Linked DNA regions of Homo sapiens: region 1 is linked to region 2. Evidence: promoter capture Hi-C in 16 types of primary human blood cells and fetal thymus (Javierre and others, 2016). All regions are on one chromosome and are shown on one strand. The core of a region is centred on a gene start or on the middle of the fragment in contact, and the rest is flanking DNA. Distances in the headings are between cores, read along the strand shown.

The links. Contacts are between HindIII fragments. The CHiCAGO score rates a contact against its expected background, and 5 or more counts as called.
Region 1: a contact is called between the fragment with the promoter of ERICH5 here and a fragment that was not itself captured in region 2, in 6 of 17 cell types (fetal thymus, naive CD4 T cells, activated CD4 T cells and 3 more). The highest score is 7.8, in fetal thymus.

The regions. Positions count from the first base shown.
Region 1 is chr8:98,063,278-98,067,074 of GRCh38, forward strand. It overlaps ERICH5 (glutamate rich 5), which reads left to right and starts at 1,291. Exons shown (of 3, transcript NM_173549.3): 1 at 1,291-1,450. The coding sequence starts at 1,393. RefSeq lists a silencer at 1,332-1,431 and an enhancer at 1,672-1,731. The HindIII fragment of the contact is 8,700 bases long and covers 1-3,603 here.
Region 2 is chr8:97,677,779-97,681,662 of GRCh38, forward strand. All of the region lies in intron 2 of MTDH (metadherin), which reads left to right. Among named protein-coding and RNA genes, the nearest start is that of MTDH, 36 kb to the left of the region's middle. RefSeq lists a silencer at 720-920. The HindIII fragment of the contact is 908 bases long and covers 1,090-1,997 here.

The DNA of each region.
Region 1 (3,797 bases), core at 41-2,540, 390 kb after region 2:
CAGGAGGCGAAAGTTGTGGTGAGCTGAGATTGTGCCATTGCACTCCAGCCTGGGCAACAAGAATGAAACCGTGTCTCAAATTAAAAAAAAAAAAAGCCTGTTCTCACCGGGTGCGGTGGCTGACATGTGTAATCCCAGCACTTTGGGAGTCCCACGCGGGCGGATCACCTGCGATCAGGAGTTCAAGACCAGCCTGGCCAACATGGTGAAACGCCGTCTCTACTAAAAAATACAAAAAATAGCCAGACGTGGTGGCGCATGCCTGTAATTCCAGCTACTCAGGAGGCTGAAGCAGGGAGAGTTTCTTGAACCAGGGAGGTGGAGGTTGCAGTGAGCTGAGATCTCGCCACTACACTCCAGTCTTGGTGACACAGTGAGACTCCATCTCCGGAAAAAAAAAAAAAAAAAAAAAGGCCGAGCGCAGTGGCTCATGCCTGTAATCCCAGCACTTTGAGAGGCCGAAGCGGGTGGATCACCTGAGGTCAGGAGTTCGAAACCAGCCTGACCAATATGGTGAAACCCCGTCTCTACTAAAATTACAAAAATTAGCTGGGCACGGTGGCAGGCGCCTGTAATCCCAGCTGCTCTGGAGGCTGAGGCTGGAGAATCGCTTGAACCCGGGAGGCAGAGGTTGCAGTGAGCCGAGATTGCGCCACTACACTCCAGCCTGGGCAACAGAGAGAGACTCGGTTTCAAAAAAAAAAAAAAATCTATTCTCTTAATAAATGTCAAAGTCATAACGACAAAGCAAGACTGGAGGAACTACTTCAGATTAAAGCAAACTAAAGAGAGACACAACTAAATGCAACGTGCAGTCCTGGATTGGACAATTGGCAAAAAGGGAACATGGAGGGTGGATTAAATCGTACTGTATCAAAGTTAAACTTCCTTGTGGTAATTGTAGTTATGTAAGAAAATAAGACTGTCATCGCACATCTAGTCTACCAATCAATAGCCCCTAGTCCCAAGGCCGCCTCGCCTCCCTGGCTATTTAGTGATGAGTCAGATGATACCTCCCAGCGCTTCGCCCTCGCCCCCTGACATCCTCCCTATCCCTGCTTTAGGGGCTTTTCCTCTCTTACTGTGCCATACCCTCCACCGTCTCCCCTCCTGTCTCCTGGGCTCTACTCCTCCCTGCCCTCCTCTGCGTCCTGGCCCTCCCGCTCTCTTCCGCTTTGCGCTCCCAGGCTCCTTCCACCTCCTGCCAGCTCCCTTCCTCCTCCAGGTGCGCACCCCCTACCATTAGCCCCGCTGCGCGCTTGCGCTCTACGCCCAAGGGAGCCGGGCTGCAGAGCTGGAGAAACTTCCGCGGCTACGGGTGCAGTTGCCTTCGGTTCCCGGTTCCGGGCCGACACCCGCGCAGGGCTGAGACAGGTGTCTGCGCTCCCCGCAATGGGCTGCTCCAGCAGCGCCCTCAACAAGGCCGGCGACAGCAGCAGGTTCCCCAGCGGTGAGCAGGGTACCGGCGCCGCCCGCGCCCGGGCTGGGGACTCGGGTGGGCTAACTCCCCAGGAGGTCCAAAGGGTGTGTCCCGTGGCCACCCCGCCTGGCAGGAGCCGGGCCTTGTCCCGGAGGATGCGAGCAGAACCCGGGACAAAGCGCGATTTCCTTCCAAATCTGGAGCGGCGCTGCTGTGACCGCGGGTGCGGCGGCCCTGGTGCGCTCCGCGGCGCTCGCTGCGAGACGCGCGGGGCCCGAGGCCGGGCGCTGGATTCACCCTGTCCGCTGATGGGATCTCGGGGAGTTGGTGTTGAGGCCCTAAGGCGGTTAGCCTCGGCATTGCCTTAAACACAGGAGAAATGTCCTATCAAGGCCTTCTACCAAGGCTGGGGGCGGTGGCTGACGACTGCAATCTCAGCACTTTGGGAGGCTGAGGCGGGACGATCTCTTGAGACCAGAAGTTCGAGAAAAACCTGGGTAACAAAGCGAGATCTTCCGCTCCCCCGTCTCTACTAAAACACCAACAAAAAAGACTTTTCCCCATTTACCCTCCCATTAGCGTTTCAGCATCAAAGATGGCAAAAGATGCGGAGAATCCAGAGGAGCATTCACTCCATCAAATGGGTCCCTGCACTCTGAATAGGTCAGACACACTTTCCCCTATCTTCGGCTTAAGTATCAGTTGAGAAGTATGTGTGATCAAAAGTGGTCATCACTGACTCTTGCTGAAGAAACTCAACAAGGACATTTTGAGCATCTGCTATATAATACCCCAGTGCTTGGCTAGATGCTGGAGATACAAGTGACCCTGTTTGTAGAGATTGAAGATAGAAGAGACAGAAAAGAAACACGTGAAACAATTGGCTAAGATCGTTTCTGACAGTGATAAGTACTGTGAAAAGTATAAACGCAGTTACATGAATTAGAGAATGACAGGGTTTTACAGCCGACTCACTTTTCTTAGATTTTGAATGGCTAAAATTTTGGACAATGCTATGGAGGTTAAGCAAACTCCGTCAAGCTAGTTTACAGTCTTCTGCAAGGCGAACTTTAGCGGGGATTTTGTACTGGAGTGAATTCCTTTTCACAGATTTTCTCTTAGCACCTTGTGTTATTGCAGTAACAGAAATGTCTTCCTCTGATGTTGTTGGTAGAGCGCACCAGACGGTGAGGAATGCTTTTCAAAGCTCAGCCGCTGTGTCCTAGTCAGAAATATGTTGTGTTGCTGTTATTTTTGTGGTGTATGAGAATTTATTTCTAGTTTCCATAGATAACGGAAAGCAATGACAAGTCAGGAAGTAAACAAAAAATTAAAAGCATTATAAAAGTAAACCCCTTCTCACTGACAACAATGTGAAAAGATGGAAAAATTCATTTCTAATGCACAGTGCTCACTAACTTTTCTCCTAAAGAACCCAGAGCTTCCATACCTGCAACAAGAGGACAGAGCAAGGAGTTTCTCCGATGTTTCGATGTTTCGTGTTTTATGTTATGAAATTAAGTAGAGTTTTGCATTCTGTTCTATGATAGATTTTTGTGGGTTTCAATATGAAAAGCCGAGGGAAAACAGATGCTTCAGGAAGATACATTTTATTATTCTGACTTCTCTACCCCATGCTGTGCTTCAGTTATCCTAGGAGTAGCATCCTGGTTTAACAAGCAGAGTACTGAGTCACCATTACATAGTTTTAAACTGATTAAAACATGTATTTCAGGGAATGTAACTTTGGGGCAAAAGTATTCAGTAGGTGGAATGCAGTTTTTAATCCTCTCAGAAAATAATGAATAACTTTATCTTTAAAAATATTTTATCATCAATATTAATAACTATTCCACGTGAGTTACACTCTTCCATTTTTTATTCTTGCTTTCATTGCTGTTCTGAGTTTTCATAGGTGTTGTTATGGAAGAGATGTTAAAATGCCTGACAGCCAGTTCTAGCCCTTAGAAAATTAACCTAATATGCGGCGTAAATTGCTCAACACACACGTTGAATCAATCAACAGGTCTATTTGCTTCTAACCCTCGATCAAACAATACTCTCTTGTAATTAGATACTATTCTGTGTTCATCAACATTTCAGCTTCATGATCTTAGGCCCGATAAATAATTCATTCCTGTTTCTGCACCTTGCAACTTCTTTAAATCCTATATACAACCTCAAGCTTGTGTGTACATACTTTTAGACAAAAACAGTTCAAGTTTATTACATGTCTGGTACATGCATTTATTCACTGTACTCTCAGTGCCTAACAACGCTTGGCATATAATAGGTCCTCAGTAATTATTTGTTGAATGAATTACTTCATTTAATCCTTATAACAATGTTATGACTAAATATTATGGTTGTCCTGTTT
Region 2 (3,884 bases), core at 294-2,793:
GTAAAAACTGGCATTTCTAGTTTTTTTGGAGGTATTTATTTATGCATTATTCTATATGACAAAATTTTACTGAATTTAATTATAAATGACTGGATGCATTTCTTGAGGGTTTCTTATTTAAATAGAGAAAGAAATACTATGGGGAAACACTTGTTCCTCTGCCATGGTAATTAGCAAAAAACAATATTACAGCCAATCAAAATGCATTCATTCATTAGCATATACTGTTTGATGCAGCATAAAAATGTTGCTAATGATATTAAATAAATTAGTACCAGAGCAAATTTCCCAGCCTGGTAGGGATAATGTACAGATGTTTCTAACATTAAAGCTTGGGAGTACTTGCTAGATTCTATTTCAGTAATGAAACACATGAAGAACCACTTTTGTGAGCAATTAAAGAGATATCCACAAAGATATATTCTCAACTGTAAATCACTTATTTAACTTTTTTGAATGTTTGTGGAAAAACTAAACAAAAACCACTGATGGACGGCTTTGACTGGAATTAAAAAAATAAATGGAGAGTTAGGGAGAGATACCACCATGTGTGAAATTTATTTACTACATTATTTCTAGAAAACTATGATGACAAAAGAGATTAATGCCAGATGGCAAATTGGAAGACCTTCAAATTACAGTAAGGGTGAAGGTGATAATCATCTTTTATGATGCAAAGATTTTACAAGAGGATTCATTGACTCTATTATAGCAAAATACTTTGATAAAGCTGAACAACTTTTAAAAGCGAGTCATACATTTTTTCTCCTTTCTCCCTCTTTCTCTCTCTGTTTCCTTTGCTTCCTTCCTTCCTTCTTTTTTTTTTTTTTTTTTTTTTTTGAGAGAGAGACAGAATTGCTTAGTCACCCAGGCTGGTCTCGAACTCCTGGCCTCAAACAATCCTCCCACCTCAGCCTCCCAATATTTCGGGATTACAGGCATGAGCCACCTTGACTGGCCTATTTTTCTTTTATGAAAAATGAAGTGTTCCAAGTCTGTTTATCTTTTTTATAAAGATAAATGGTTGTCTGCTTACCAGATACTTTTACAAAGAATTTATACTGAATCTGCCCCTTCACGCTTAAGGAAAGCTTACTTAACAAGATGTCAGAAAATAGCCAATTTTTGAAAGAAACTCATGCAATGAAGAGTGTATTCTGACAAACTTACATCATTGCATGATTTGTTATTAAAGAGCGTTTGTACGTTAGATGTGAAAATCCTCATATCTGCCCAGCTTGGGAGCAATTTTCTAACAGAAAAATAGCCTAACAGCCCAGATTCCAGAGCACGAGTACATGGGATCCAATTCCAGTTCTAACACTTGACTAATGATGTGATTTGGGGGTTGGTTAGTAATCACTTGTGCCTCCCTTTTCTTATCTACAAAATGGATAGAATAGCATTTACCTAGGGTTACTTTGAGAATTTAAATGGAACTATGTAAGTAATAGCTATAAACCAGATGTAAAATTTTGTCTTTTTAGTGAATTCACTTGTTAAAAATACAAAAAAAAATTATCTCACCCATGGTAATAACAAGAACAAAATGATGATGATGATAATAGTAATAATAATAATAAAGTAGAAAGTACCAAAAACTGTAGAACTTTCTGATCTACAGTTCAATACAGAAACAATGTATTGATGTTAAAGATTAAAATTTACTGGCTGAATTTTCACAAAAACTTTTGCATAGTTGGAGAATTAGGTTGAAAAATTAGTGTCGTATTTCAGTAAGCATGGCCAATCATGTGTCTTCCATTTTGATCTTCTTACTTTTTCAAGTATAACAATATTTAATACCAGATATTAAAATGAATGCATTTAGAAGATATTCGAAAGAATGAAGCATGTGCATTGATATTGCTATCACTAAAAATAGTTATATTTTACAAATGTATACACTATCAGTGTAGTAGAATGTGTATAAAATTTATAAACAAATATCTTGGGGTATATGCTCAATTTTTTCCCATGGAAGTATGAGAACAACAAGCTTATTTAACCCGCTGTTACAAGAGTGATAGCAGACCCCTTTATCTGGCATATTTACTCAGGTATTTAAGTGAGTTACCATATGTTCCATATATTGATTAGCAATTGAGTATTGGCACTGCTTATTTACTTATTTTGAGTAACTCCTAATAAGATACTAGAATTTTTGGAACTTATTCGTCATAATTTCCTAAGGAATTATCAATCTGTCTTATTCAGTATATATCTTTGGCAGTTTTAGAAAGTTGTAATGGTGGATCTAATGATTATTTATCAAAGCCTTTTCGTCATCTAGTTTTTTTGTTTGTTCGTTTGAGACAAGGTCTTGCTCTGTCGCCCAAGCTGGAGTGCAGTGGTGCAATCTTGGCTCACTGCAACCTCGACCTCCTGGGCTCAAGTGATCCTCCCACCTCAGTCTGCCGAGTAGCTAGGACTACAGGTGTGCACCACCATGCCCAGCTAATTTTTTATTTTTTGTAGAGACACAGTTTTGCCGTGTTGCCCAGGCTGGTCTCAAACTCCTGGCCTCAATCGGTCGGCCCACCTCAGCCCCTCCAAAGTGCTGGGATTACAAGCATGTACCACCGCACCCAGCTCATCATCTAGATTTAAAAGAATGGAGCCATTTGCTGTTCCACGTGCAAATATTGTTTGTAGTCCCAATGAATATGTATTCATTGTCATTTAACTCATTCCTCTTTTAGGAGTGTTATGGTGTGTGTATGTATACATGCACATACATGTGCACACATGCCTATACATGTACTTAACATATAACACAAAGATTTTTTTCTAATGGGACTATACTATAGCCTACTTTGTTGGTAATATCTGTATTATGTATATGAGATGGAAAGAAGACATAATGTGAAATTTAGTGAAAGCTAATAGGAAAATTAACATACAGATTTTTTGAGATGACTTCTGATACATTGAGTGATGTCTGTTTTGAATAATTTCAGAGGTTTTGGGTTAAAGGTCGTTAGTTTCATGCAGTATCTGAACCCCTGCTAATTTCAAATGCTAGACAGGCTTCCTCAAAAGCGTATTTCTATCAGTGCTGATCATGAAGCATTCAAATAAAGGGAAGTAGAGATTCTGTTGAGAATATAATGAAATATCTCTTGTTCTTTTGCTTTTAAGAAGCTTATTATTAGAAAACTGGGAACACTTTAACACATGGAAAGGTATAGCCATACTGGAAATGTCCCAAGGAAGTTTGTGACAAATGACCAAATCTTTTTCAGTTTTAAATGTTTTGAGATGCAAGATTATATGTATTTAGGGGAAAGGAAAAGGGGGACAGTGGTAGAGATAAAGCAAATGGAGTGGAACGTGAGCTGGGTCAGAAAAAAAAAATGAGTACAGGCCATTTCAGGCATTGAACATCGGTAGGGGAGCAGATGATTCAGGTGCAAAGAAAATCACTCCAGCACTTTGTTCTGAGAAAAAATCCACAGTCAGTGCAGCTTGGTTAAAAACAGGAATGTTCAAAGAGGTACCAGTCTTGTAGGAATCAAATGCTCATATGTATGAATAAAGGAATGTAAGGTTGAGATCAATTTGTGGAAGACATCATATGTCATGTAAGGAAGTTAGACCTTGTAAAAGGTAGGAAATATCTGCAGCGGTTTTTTTTTTTAAAGTAAGAATGAAAATTAATTGGATTGATAAGATATATTGGGAAGGAAACTCTTGAAGATAAGAATTTTTTCTTTTTTTTTTTTTTTTTTTGAGATGGAATTTCGCTCTTGTTACCCAGTCTGGAGTGCAATGGTGTGATCTCAGCTCACTGCAACCTCCGCCTCCCGGGTTCAAGCGATTCTTCTGCCTCAGCCTCCCGAGTAGCTGTGATTACAGGCATGCACCAGCACGCTTGGCTGATT